2 separate regions of the Homo sapiens genome follow, and region 1 is linked to region 2. The links are contacts of gene promoters, found by promoter capture Hi-C in human tissues and cell types (Jung and others, 2019). All regions are on one chromosome and are shown on one strand. The core of a region is centred on a gene start or on the middle of the fragment in contact, and the rest is flanking DNA. Distances in the headings are between cores, read along the strand shown. Region 1 overlaps CHST12 (carbohydrate sulfotransferase 12). Region 2 holds the start of COX19 (cytochrome c oxidase assembly factor COX19).

Region 1 (6,216 bases), core at 2,123-4,622, 1.4 Mb before region 2:
GAAAGTAGAATGGTGGTTGTGGGGGCAGGGGAGGGGGATGGGAGTTTGTGTTCAATGGGGACAGAGCTTTAGTTTTACAAGATGAACATAGTTCTGGGGCTGGAGGGTGGTGATTGCTGCAGAGTGATGTGAACGTGCTTAACACCACCAAACTGCATGCTTAAAAATGGTTACAATGGTAATTTTTTTTTTTTTTTTTTGAGACGGAGTTTTGCTCTTGTTGCCTAGGCTTGAGTGCAGTTGCACAATCTCAGCTCACTGCAACCTCTGCTTCCCGGGTTCAAGCGATTCTCCTGCCTCAGCCTCCTAAGTAGCTGGGATTACAGGCTCCCACCACCATGCCTGGCTAATTTTTGTATTTTTAGTAGAGACGGGGCTTCACCATGTTGGCCAGGCTGGTCTCGGACTCCTGACCTCAGGGAATCCACCTGCCTTGGCCTCTCAAAGTGCTGGGATTACAGGCGTAAGCCACTATGCCCAGCCATTTTTTTTTTTTTTTTTTTTTTGGAGACAGGGTTCCACTCTATCATTCAGACTTGAGTGCAGTGGCGTGATCTTGGCTCACTGCAACCTCCCCACTCAAGTGATCCTCCCACCTCAGCCTCCTGAGTAGCTGGGTTACAGGTGTGCACCACCACGCCTGGCTAATTTTTGTATTTTTAGTAGAGATGGGGTTTCACCATGTTGACCAGGATGGTCTTGAACTCCTGGGCTCAAGTGATCTACCTGCCTCGGCCTCCCAAAGTGATGGGAATACAGGCATGAGCCACCACGCCCAGCCAAGTTTTAATTTTAAAAGGCGGTTTGGACAGCCAGACATGGTGGTTCATGCCTGTGATCCCAGCAATTTGGGAAGCCAAGGCAGGGGGATTGCTTGAGCCAAGGGGTTCAAGACCAGCCTGGTCCACACAGTGAGACCTCATGTCTACAAATAATTTTTAAAATTAGCTGGGCATGATGGCACACACCTGTGGTCCCAGTTACTCTGGAGGCTGAAGTGGGAAAATGGCTTGAACCCAGGAGGTCAAGGCTGCAGTAAGCTATGATTGTGCCGTTGTACTCCAGCCTGGGTGACAGGGTGAGACCACATCCCAAAAAACAAAACAACAACAACAGCAACAGAAACAACAGCTTGGACATACAAGAATGTCTGGCCCAGTGACTGACACAGCTCCGGCCTGAAGCCCACGTGACTTTTGCTACCTTCTGGGCAGGAGAGAAGCATTCAGGGAAGGGTCCGATAGAACCGCTGGGCTGAGCACTGCGGTCATGATCCCACCTGCTTCCAAAACACATCATGGGCAACACTGAAGCCATAAAGTAATTTTTCATTAAAAAGAAATAGGACATGATTTCCAAATGCAAATCTCCCAGTGTTTCAACAAAAAGCCCCCTGTGATTTGAAGCAGAGCACGCAGAGGCATCTCAGATGAACAGACGTATAACCCGCCTGCGGCACACCAACCGTGGGCTGCTGCCTCCAGCAAGGGAACCCACAGAGCAAAGTTTCACCTAGAAGCATCATCCGCCAGGAAACTGTAGCGGTGGAGGTGCTTTTCCACGGCGGCTGTGTCAGATGCCCTCATAAATGGCACTGAAAATTATTAGGTTAGGTTTAAACGCAAACACTGTGGTTAGGCTGACAGAGTTGTGTCTTAGCTCCGGGTGGGGCTGTTAAATATTTCTTTGCTCACACACAACATGCAGGGCATGAAGCCAGGGGCAGACTCTGCAGCCCCAGGGAGCAAGTCCATGCCGGCTGCCCACGCAAGGCCACTGGTCCAAATACTCATGCTGACTGTGGGCAAAACACTAGAGAAAGAAAAGGCAGCTAGCACAGACAGCTATGGCCTTAGCTCACTCGTGTTCAGCTGTGTGTCACCGTGACGTGACCACAGCCATCCTGCTCTGGAAGACACTGCCACATGGCCAGATCTATATTAAGCCCCCCAGAAGCGCATTTTCCACATTGTTACAGCAGAACTGACATCGATCACACAAAAAGGTCACGTAATACGTGGCTAATTTTATGTGTCAACTGGACTGGGCCGTGGGGTACCCAGATATTTGGTTAAGCATACTCTGACTGCGTCTGTGAGCATGTTTCTGGAGGAGAGTAACATCCAAATGGGTGAACTGAGATATCGGATGCCCTCCCAGTATGAGAGGGCCTCAGCCAGTCCACTGAAGGCCCAAGTACAACAGAAAAGTGGAGTAAGGCCAGGTGTGGTGGCTCATGCCTATAATCACAGCACTTTGGGAGGCCAAGGCAGGCGGATCAGTTGAGGTCAGGAGTTCGAGACTAGCCTGGCCAACATGGTAAAACCCTGTCTCTACTAAAAATACAAAAATTAGTCAGGCCTGGTGGCACATGCCTGTAATTCCAGCTACATGGGAGGTTGAGGCAGGAGAATAGTTTGAACCTGGGAGGCGGAGGTTGCAGTGAGCTAAGATCACACCACTGTACTCCAGCCTGGGCAACACTGTGAGACTCCATCACAAAAAAAAAAAAAAAAAAAAGTCAGACATGGTGGCGCACACCTGTAACCCAGCTACTCAGGAGGCTGAGGCAGGAGAATTGCTTGAACCCAGGAAGCAGAGGTTGCAGTGAGCTGAGATCACGCCACTGCACTCTAGCCTGGCCAACAGAGCAAGACTCTGCCTCAAAAAAAAAAAAAAAAGGTAGAGTAAGAGAATCAACTCTCTCTGCCTGCCTGTCTTTGAGCTGGGACATTGGTCTTCGTCTTTGGACTCCGTCTCAGACTGGAGTCATACCATTGGCTCTCCAGGGTCTGAATTTCTCAGCCTCCGTAATTGTGTGAGCCAATTTCTTATCATCAATCTCTTTGTATACACATTGCAAAAGAAAAATAAAATCTCAGGACCCCGAATTCACCAAGCTAAAGGGAAAGTTAAGCTTAACAACCAAGTTACGCAAAAGAAAAGCTGCCTTCTTTTCTTTCCCAGATAAAGTAATTTACGTGCTTATTTATCGCAGGTAAAATGCAGATTTACTGTGCGGAGAAGGCGTATGTGACTCTGCCCCACTCCCTTCTTTTCACATGTAAAATGTAGATTCACTGAATGGTACTAAAAGCCTCACAAAAATGTGACCACTGGCCTCATTGCCTACTCCACCTCCTTTTCTTCCCCTCTTCCCCTCCTGCCTACTTTTTCCTCTTTAAATACTGAAGTTTCCAAAACCCTCTTTAGAAAAAGCACACAGGCCACAGATCCTACAATGACTTGTGTTTCTTTCTTAACCTTGGCAAAATACACCTCTAAATCGACTGAGATCTGTTTCTGTTTCCATGCCTGCTAACACAACATCCATTCTGCAGCCCATGGATCAAGCAGTAATTTTGACTTTTAGGTCTTATTATTAAAGGAATACATTTTGTAAGGCTAAAGCTGCCATAGTGATTCCTCTGTAGGATCTGGGCAAAGTAAACTGAAAACCTGGAAAGGATTCACCATTCTAATGCCTTTAAGAACATTCGGGATTCACAGGAAGAGATCAAAATAGCAACATTAATAGAAGTTTGAAGAGGTTGGTTCCAGTCCTCATGGATGACTCTGAGGAGTTCAAGACTCCGGTGCAGGAAGTAACAGCAGATGTGGTGGAAACAGCAAGAGAAGTAGAATCAGAAGTGGAGCCTGAAGATGTGGCCAAATAATTGCAATCTCATGTTCAAAGCTGAACAGATGAAGAGTTGCTTCTTACGAAGGAACGAAAGAGCAGTTTCTTGAGGAGGAATCTACTCTGGGTAAAGATGCTATGAACGCTGCTGAGATGACCAGAAAAGATTTAGAATATTCCATAGACTTACATGATAATGCAGTGGCAAGGTTTGAGAAGATTGACTACAATTTTAAAAGATGTTCTACTATAAGTAAAATGTTATCAAACAGCATCACGTGCTACAGGAAAACCTTTTGTAAAAGTAAGAGTCAATAAATGCAGCACACTTCATTGTTGTCTTAAGAAATTGCCAGCCAGGCGCGGTGGCTCACGCTTGTAATCCCAGCACTTTGGGAGGCTGAGGTGCGCGGATCACAAGGTCAGGAGATCGAGACCATCCTGGCTAACACGGTAAAACCCCGTCTCTACTAAAAATACAAAAAAAATTAGCCAGGCGTGGTGGCGGGCGCCTGTAGTCCCAGCTACTCAGGAGGCTGAGGCAGGAGAATGGCGTGAACCCGGGAGGCGGAGCTTGCAGTGAGCCAAGATCGTGCCACTGCACTCCAGCCTGGGCGACAGAGCGACTCTGCCTCAAAAAAAAAAAAAAGAAAAAAGAAAAGAAATTGCCATAGCCACTCCAGCCTTCAGCAACCACCGCCCTGATCAATCAGCAGCTATCAACATCAAGACAAGACCCTCCACCAGCAAAAAGATTGCCACTCGCTGAAGGCTCAGATAATTGTTAGCATTTTTTAGCAATATTTTTAAATTAACGTATGTACATTGTTTCTTAGACATAATGCTATTGCACACTTAATAGACTACAGTATAGTGTAAACATAAAACTTTTTTTTTTTTTTGAGGCAGAGTTTCGCTGTTGTCATCCAGGCTGGAGTGCAGTGGCACAATCTCGGCTCACTGCAACCTCTACTCTGGGGTTCAGGTGATCCTCCTGCCTTAGCCTCCTGAGTAGCCAGGATTACAGGCGCCCACCACCACATCTGGCTAATTTTTTGTATTTTTAGTAGAGATGGGGTTTCATCATGTTGGCCAGGCTGGTCTTGAACTCCTGACCTCAGGTGATCCACCCGCCTTGGCCTCCCAAAGTGCAGGGACTGAGGCGTGAGCCACCACACCTGGCCAAATATAACTTTTATATGCACTGGGAAACGCAAAAACTTTGTTGACTCTCTTTATTGCGATATTCACTTGATTGTGGTGGTCCAGAACTGAACCTGCAACATCTCTGAAGTATGCCTGTAGAGATAAATGAGACAGCACAAAGTCCCAAAAGAGATCCACATGTATGTGGCTGTTTTCAAAAGGTGGCAAAGTAATTCAATAAGGAATAACAATCTTTTCAACAAATGGTGCTGAAACAACTGGATATCTGCATGAAAAAGAATGAACCTCAACCCTACGCCTCACACAGAAATTAACTCACAATGGATCATGGCCTTACACATAAACACTAAAACTAAAATATTCAGAGGAAAACAGGAAAAAATCTCCATGACTTGGGAGAAGGCAAAGATTTGTTGGGATACCAAAAGCACAAATATGAGAGAAAAATGTGGTAAATTGGACTTTATCAAAATTTAAAACTTAGGATTCTCAAATTTTACCATTAAAGAAAGTAAAGGCTGGGCACGGTGGCTCACACCTGTAATCCCAGCACTTTGGGAGGCCGAGAAGGGTGGATCACCTGAGGTAAGGAGTTCAAGACCAGCCTGTCCAACATGGCGAAACCCCATCTCCACTAAAATTACAAAAAATTAGCCGGGCATGGGGGCAAGTGCCTGTAATTCCAGCTACTCAGGAGGCTGAGGCAAGAGAATCGCTTGAACCCAAGAGGTGGAGGTTGCAGTGAGCCAAGATCACACCATTGCGCTCCAGCCTGGGTGACAAGACCAAAACTCTGTCTCAGAGAAAAAAAAAGAAAAAGAAAAATAAAAAAAGAAAGTAAAAGACAGGCCATAGGCCGGGAGAAAATATTCTCAATATGTATATCTAACAAAGTGCCTATATCCAGAATATATAAAGAGCTCTTACAACGGAAAATAAACCCAATTAAAAAATAAGCAAAAAATTTGAACAGACGTTTCACAAAAGAAGAGATACAAATAGTCAGAAAGCACATAGGAAAGTGCTCATCATCATTAGTCATCAAAGAAATGCAAATTAAAATGAGATAACTGGCCGGGCGTGGTGGCTCATGCCCGTAATCCCAGCACTTTGGGAGGCCGAGGTGGGTGGATCACCTGAGGTCAGAAGTTCAAGACCAGCCTGGCCAACATGGTGAAACCCCATCTCTACTAAAAATACAAAAATTAGCTGGGTGTGGTGGTGGGTGCCTGTGATCCCAGCTACTCGGGAGGCTGAGGCAGGAGAATCACTTGAACCCAGGAGGCAGAGGTTGCAGTGAGCCAAGATCACGCCACTGCACTCCAGCCTGGGCGACAGAGGGAGACTCTGTCTCAAAAAAAAAAAAAAAAAAAAAAAGCTAAAACCTGAAAACAACCCCAATGTACATC
Region 2 (6,880 bases), core at 389-2,888:
ACATCGACACGCAAAGGCCGGGCCTTACCGCTTACAGTACACTTTCATTCTGCCCTAGGTTGAGCTGTAACTACCCTCCACCCCCATTCGTATGGTGAAGCCACTAGGACCTTAGGATGTGACCTTTGCTTTGGAAATAGGTGCCAGGTGCGGCGGCTCACGCCTGTCATCCCAGCCCTTTGGGAGGCTGAAGTGGGCGGATCACTTAAGGTCAGGAGTTCGAGACCAGCCTGGGCAACATGGTGAAACCCCGTCTCTACGAAAAGTACAAAAAATTAGCCGGGTGTGGTGGCGCATGCCTGTAATCCCAGCTACTCTGGAGGCTGAGGCAGGAGAATCTCTTGAACTCGGGAAGTGGAGGTTGCGGTGAGCCGAGATCGTACCACTGCACGCCCGTCTAGGTTACAAAGTGAGACTCTGTGTTGAAAAAAAATATATTAGCTTAGCTGGGTGTGTTGGTGGCGCCTGTAATCCCAGCTACTCGGGAGGCTGAGGCAGGAGAATTGCTTTAACCTGGGAGGTGGAGGTTGCAATGAGCCAGGATCGAGCCACTGTACTCCAGCCTGGGCAACAAGAGAGAGACTCCGTTTTAAAAAACAAAACAAAGAAATAGGGTTGCTGCTGATATAATTAGTTAAGATGAAGTTATTGGGACGGCCCCTAACCCAACATGACTGCTATCCTTATAAAAAGAGGAAATTTAGGTTGGGCATGGTGGCTCATGCCTATAATCCCGGCATTTAGGGAGGCTGAGGCAGGAGGATTGCCTGAGCCCAGGAGTTAAGGACCAGCCTGGGCAACATAGGGAGACTCCATCTCTACGAAAAATAGAAAAATTAGCCTGGTGTGGTGGTGTGTGCCTGTGGTCGCAGCTACTCAGGAGGCTGGGGTGAGAGGATCGCTGAGCCCAGGAGGTCGAGGCTGCAGTGAGTCGTGATCATGCCACTGCACTCTAGTCTGGGCAACAGAGCAATACCCTGTCTCAAATAAATAAATAAAAATAGTAAATTTGGACATGCGCAGGACACCATGGGAACGTAGGGGCCGAGACCAGGTGGTGCTTCTGCAAGCCAAGGAACCTCACAGGCTGGCGGCCCCCAGAAGCTGGGAGGCTGGGACTGTCCCCAGGGCCCCCACTCTGCCCACTGCTTGGACTCCAGACCCCAGGACTGAGAGCACATTCCTGTTGTTGAAGCTGCTCGGTGGTGTCACCTGGCTCCAGCAGCCGCAGGCAGCGAGTCCACAGGCTCTCCTGTCCCTCCTGTGCCGCCTTCCTCCCCGGATGGGCCCCGTGATGAGGTCTCTGTGCGATGGGGAAACCGAGGCCCCAGCAGACACCTGGGATGCAGAGACGCCGGCACCGCTATGTGTCCTCGGGCAATTCGCTGAACCTTTCTGGGCCTCGGTTTCTCACCAATTCCAAAAGCTGATTCTGCTACCGACTGCTGTGAGGGTCCCAGGGGACGGGAAAGCCCGGGCAGCGCCCACCGGGGCTCAGGAGCTTGCTGACTCCGAGGGGGTGGGGCCGGGCCTGGGCAAGGGGTGGGGCCGGGCCTGGGCAAGGGGCGGGGACGGGGCCTGCTCGACGTGCTCGGCGCTCCCGGGGTGCCTGCTCGGCGCTCCGCCGGCCGCCCTGCGTACGCTCGCAAGGCGCTCGCAGACTCCGGAGTCGCCAACATGTCGACCGCCATGAATTTCGGGACCAAGAGCTTCCAGCCGCGGCCCCCGGACAAGGGCAGCTTCCCGCTGGATCACTTAGGTGAGCGGCGGAAGGTCGGCGGGCAGGGGTCTGCGATGGGGGGTCTGGGTCGCGGCCCAGCGCGGAGCCCTATGGGGTGCCGGCATCTAGCGCGGTGCAGGCGGGGAAACTGAGGCACGGCGGCCCGCCCCTCCGCCCCACCCAGCCCTGGGTCACTGCTGCGGCATGGACCCTGCAGGTGGGAGCTGGCAGGACCGTGGCCCCCGTGACGAGGGCAGCGACACCGACTCCTTGCGTCAGGCTTCCGGGTCTCCGGCTCCGCCCTGACTCACCCGGCGGGCTGTCTGTGCCCCGGGTTTGCAGAGCGGGGCATTCGGCGGCCACGAAGCCCGCAGCTGCAGCCGAGGCTTAGACGGTGCCTAGCGATGTCTGCTGCAAAGCTCAAAAGTGCTGCTGATCTCCCAGTGCTTCTGGCCGTATTCCGGTGGGGTTGCCTCCGTGGACATGAAGGCTTCGAAAAAGGATCTGTGGGCCGGGCGCGGTGGCTCATGCCTGTGATCCCAGCCCTTTGGGAGGCCGAGGTGGGCGGATCATTTAAGATCAGGAGTTCGAGACCAGCCTGCCCAACATGGGGAAACCCCGTCTCTACTAAAAATACAAAAATTAGTTGGGTGTGATGTGGCTCGCCTGTAGTCCCAGCTACTCGGGAGGCTGAGGCAGGAGAATCGCTTGAACCGGGAGACGGAGGTTGCAGTGAGCCGAGATCGGGCCACTGCACTGCAGCTTGGGCGACAGAGTGAGACAACGTCTCAAAAAAAAAAAGAAAGAAAAGAAAAGAAAAACGATCTGTGAATTACTGTTTCTTTCCCAACATTTTATTGTGACATTTTCAAATAGCAAAAATGAAAGAATTTTTACCCTGAACTCTCCTGTGACCATCACCTACATTGCACCTTAACCTCGTACTGGGCTGACTTTACCTCGTTGTGGGTTTTTTCCATTGTTGTTTTCAGCATGTTTATGAAGGAAACAAGTTTGGGTTTGATTGTTTTTGTTTTGAGACACGGTCTCACTCTGTTGCTTAGGCTGGAGTGCAGTGGTGCAATCATAGCTCACTGAAGCCTCGGCCTCCTTCCTTTCTGGACTCAGGGGAGTCTCCCGTCTCATCCTCTAGAGTAGCTGGGACTATAGGTGTGCAGCGCCACACCCAGCTAATTTTTTTTTTTTTTTTTTTTTTAGAGATGGGGTTTCCCCATGTTGCCCAGGCTGGATTATTTATTTATTTATTTTTGAAATGGACTCTCACTGTGTCGCCCAGGCTGGAGTGCAGTGGTGTGATCTCGACTCACTGCAACCTCCTCCTCCCGGGTTCAAGCGATTCTCCTGTCTCAGCCTCTAGAGTAGCTGGGACTATAGGTGTGCAACACCACACCCAGCTAATTATTATTGTTTTTTTATTTTTTATTTTAAAGATGGAGTTTCCCCATGTTGACCAGGCTGGATCATTTATTTATTTATTTTTGAAATGGAGTCTCACTCTGTCACCCAGGCTGGAGTGCAGTGGTGTGATCTCGACTCGCTGCAACCTCCGCTTCCTGGGTTCAAGCAATTCTCCTGCCTCAGCCTCCCGAGTAGCTGGGACTACAGACACCCGCCACCATGCCCGGCTAATTTTTGTATTTTTAATAGAGATGGGGTTTCACCAAGTTGGCCGAGCTGGTCTTGAACTCCTGACCTCAGGTGATCCGCCCACCTCTGCCTCCCAAAGTGCTAGGATTACAGGCGTGAGCCACCGTGCCCAGCCTGGATTATTTTTAGGAGACAAGGTCTTGATCTGTTGCCCAGGCTGGAGTGCAGTGGTGTGATCAAGCTCACTGCAGCCTCGAAATCCTTTGCTCAAGCGATCTTCCTGCCTCAGCCTCCTGAGTAGCTGGAACCACAGACGTGCGCCACACCTAGCTAACTTTTAAGGTTTTTTTTGGTAGAGATGGGGGTCTCACTGTGTTGCCCAGGCTGGTCTCAAACTCCTGGGGTCAGGTGATCCTCTCAGAGTGCTGGGATTACAGGTGTGAACCACTGCGCCCGGCCTGAGGAAACAAGTTTTGAAAGGAAAAGCAGCGCAGCTCTTAAGGCTGTTGTGTGGTTGCATCACTTTTCACTCTGAAAAGAACATGCTGTTTTCTTTCTCGTTCTAGGTGAATGTAAAAGCTTTAAAGAGAAATTCATGAAGTGTCTTCATAACAATAATTTTGAAAATGCTTTGTGCAGAAAGGAATCAAAAGAATATTTAGAATGCAGGATGGAGAGGTGAGTACAGCTAAGCGTTATGATTTCCACCTCCCACTACTCCAATTAAAACTTTTTTTTTCCTGAAAGGCCATTACAGTGTGTCTTTTTCAGGCCTGGGATTCAGCTTGTGTTTTTCAGGACTGTGGAATTGTTTGCCCTTGAAATGGAGGCTTATCAGATGAAATTGTACCAAAAGCTGTTTCACAATCTTGGGAACCTCTTCTTGAGCGATAGCGTTATACATGATTGCATTCCTGAGAGCATTTTCTTTCCACATTTGGTTGCTACCGACCTGTCATTAAGGTTTCCAAATCGTGCATCATAATGCTGACTGAGTCAAAAGACCGAAGGTCGTGGGTACACAGTTTCTTTCTTTTGCATTCTCAGATGTTAAAAATATGCACTGGGTTGTTTTGCTCCACTTTGAGTTGTTGGGAATGTGACAGGGAGGACAATAGACTATTTAAGAAATGATGAAAGATGAATGATTCTTCCTGTCGTAACCAGAACTCACCAACGCTCACTTTTAAACAAAACAAACGCGTTCGTAGCTATGATCCCCACAGCTTTTACTTAAAATAAGAGCTATTCTAATCCCTTATGCAAAAAAAAGCATGTAGCATATAATTATATGATGGTAGTGGGAGCTTTTATTTTTGCTTTTCGAGGCCATGATTAGCTCACTAAGCATTTCGGTCTTCAGACAGCTGTGTCTGTGCTGAAGACAGGTTGACAATTCGCCCATCCACTTTGAGCTCTTTTCATGTTCCCATAACATACTCAGACATTTCCCTCAAGGCAAAAATCCGTTGTGCCTTTCCGGCCACACAGGTGTGTTCGGGGTTATTCGTGTGGACATTTGGGGCCGTAAGGATGATGGGCCTTCTCAGCGGTGTGGACTTCAGTGAGGCCACGTTCTGCCTTTGGGGCTGTCGCTTAGGCTCTTCCAGGGCTCACATTTGTCCAAGGGCCACACTGAATCTGTCTCTTACCATCTCTGATTGTTTAAGTAGCACGCTGGCTGGAGCCACGTGTTTAAATTAGTCTTAAATTAATGCATCTTTAGAAAACTGGAACTGAGAATTTCTCCATGGCGCTGCCAAGCTTTAGAGACGGTGTGAATTGAGCTGTGTTCATGTGAGGGTGTGAGCAGGCCTCCTGCCTCATGCTCAGCTTCCCCTTGAGACTCCCGAGGACAGCTGGGAGGAAGGGAGCCAGGGCCAGTGCCTCAGGTGGTCTCGCAGATTGGCCAGGCAATGTTTAGGCAAATGTTCAGGGCATGTGTTCTGATTTCATTGTTTTTTTATTTTTATTTTTATTATTTTTTTGAGACGGAGTCTCACTCTGTCGCCTGGGCTGGAGCGCAGTGGCATGATCTCAGCTCACTGCAAGCTCCGCCTCCCGGGTTCACCCCATTCTCCCACCTCAGCCTCCCGAGTAGCTGGGACTACAGGCGCCTGCCACCTTGCCCGGCTAATTTTTTGTATTTTTAGTAGAGACGGGGTTTCACCGTGTTAGCCAGGATGGTCTGGATCTCCTGACCTCATGGTCCGCCCACCTCGGCCTCCCAAAGTGCTGGGATTACAGGCGTGAGCCACTACGCCCAGGCTTTTGTTGTTTTTTGTTTTTGTTGTTTTTTTTTTCTTTTTAAAAATTCTGCTCTTTCTATAAGGTCAGTTATTTTGACCGTAGAATTTCGATTGGTTATTTGTTCATGAAAATCATCAAACATACAGAAGTTGAGGAGTCTACCTCCCATAACCGGCACCCACCCTGTTTTTAGCCATTTCTTTTCTTCCTTTTTCCTTCTGTGCTAAAATCCTAGACATTACTTTACTCCAACCTCCGTGTGTGTCTGTTTTAGAAAATGGACCACAATGGAGTTTTTAAAGTTGTCTCTTGAGGACTTGGACCATGTTTGCCTGATGTGAAAATATAGGTGTGTTTCAGATGACCACCGTGGTCTGAGATCTCAAGCCTCTGCAGTGATTTAGAAGTTCGCGTCCTGTCCTGGGGATTAGTTTTAGGCACCGGGTGTCACACAGACACGCTGGTGGAGCAGCCTCACCCGCTGCCAGCAGCACAGAGTGTGTGGGGGCCTCATGGGATGATGGCTGGGCCTCCTGGCTGGGTTGTGGGGAGGGTAAAGGAGGCCATCCCTGTAAAGCACGCAGCAGGATCGGGGGGCATGTCACCATGTGTGAGTTCACATGATAGTAACTATTGTCCTGAAGAGTGTGGGGCCCATAAAGAGTCATGCTGAGTCGTGAATTTCACGCCTCTAAGATGGCTGCACTGCGATAAACAGCTGGGAATTATTTTGGCAAGAAGTGGTGGCTCACATCTGTAGCCCCAGCACTTTGGGAGGCCAAGCAGGAGAATCACTTGAGCTCAGGAGTTCAAGACCAGCCTGGGCAACATAGTGAAACCCTATATCTACAAAAAATTTCTTTAAAAATTAGCTGGCTGGGTGCAGTGGCTCACGCCCGTAATTCCAACACTTTGGGAGGCTGAGGTGGGCAGATCACTTGAGGTCAGGAGTTCAAGACGAGCATGGTGAGACCCCATCTCTACTAAAAATATAAAAATTAGCCAGGCATGGTGGCAGGCGCCTGTAATCCCAGCTACTTGGGAGGCTGAGGCAGGGAGAATTGCCTGAACCCGGGAGGTGGAGGTTGTAGTGAGCCGAGATCATGCCGCTGCACTCCAGCCTGGGCAACAGAGTAGGACTCCGTCTCAAAAAAAAAAAAAAAAAAAAATTAGCTGGCCGGGCAGTGTGGCTCATGCATGTAATCCCAGCACTTTTGGAGACCAAGGTGGGTAATCACATGAGGTCAGGAGTTCGAGACCAGCCTGACCCATATGGTTAGACACCGTCTCTACTAAAACTAC

Evidence for each region. Contacts are between HindIII fragments. The study calls those that stand out against the background at their distance.
Region 1: a contact is called between a fragment that was not itself captured here and the fragment with the promoter of COX19 in region 2, in 1 of the 25 tissues and cell types used here (heart left ventricle).

The regions. Positions count from the first base shown.
Region 1 is chr7:2,413,692-2,419,907 of GRCh38, reverse strand. The region is part of intron 1 of CHST12 (carbohydrate sulfotransferase 12); the gene reads right to left. Among named protein-coding and RNA genes, the nearest start is that of CHST12, 13 kb to the right of the region's middle. The HindIII fragment of the contact is 8,434 bases long and covers 1-6,216 here.
Region 2 is chr7:970,307-977,186 of GRCh38, reverse strand. COX19 (cytochrome c oxidase assembly factor COX19) reads left to right here and starts at 1,638. Exons shown (of 3, transcript NM_001031617.3): 1 at 1,638-1,759; 2 at 3,895-4,006. The coding sequence starts at 1,678. RefSeq lists enhancers at 652-1,532, 2,164-2,233, 1,533-2,415 and silencers at 1,464-1,743, 1,764-1,923. The HindIII fragment of the contact is 7,753 bases long and covers 1-4,500 here.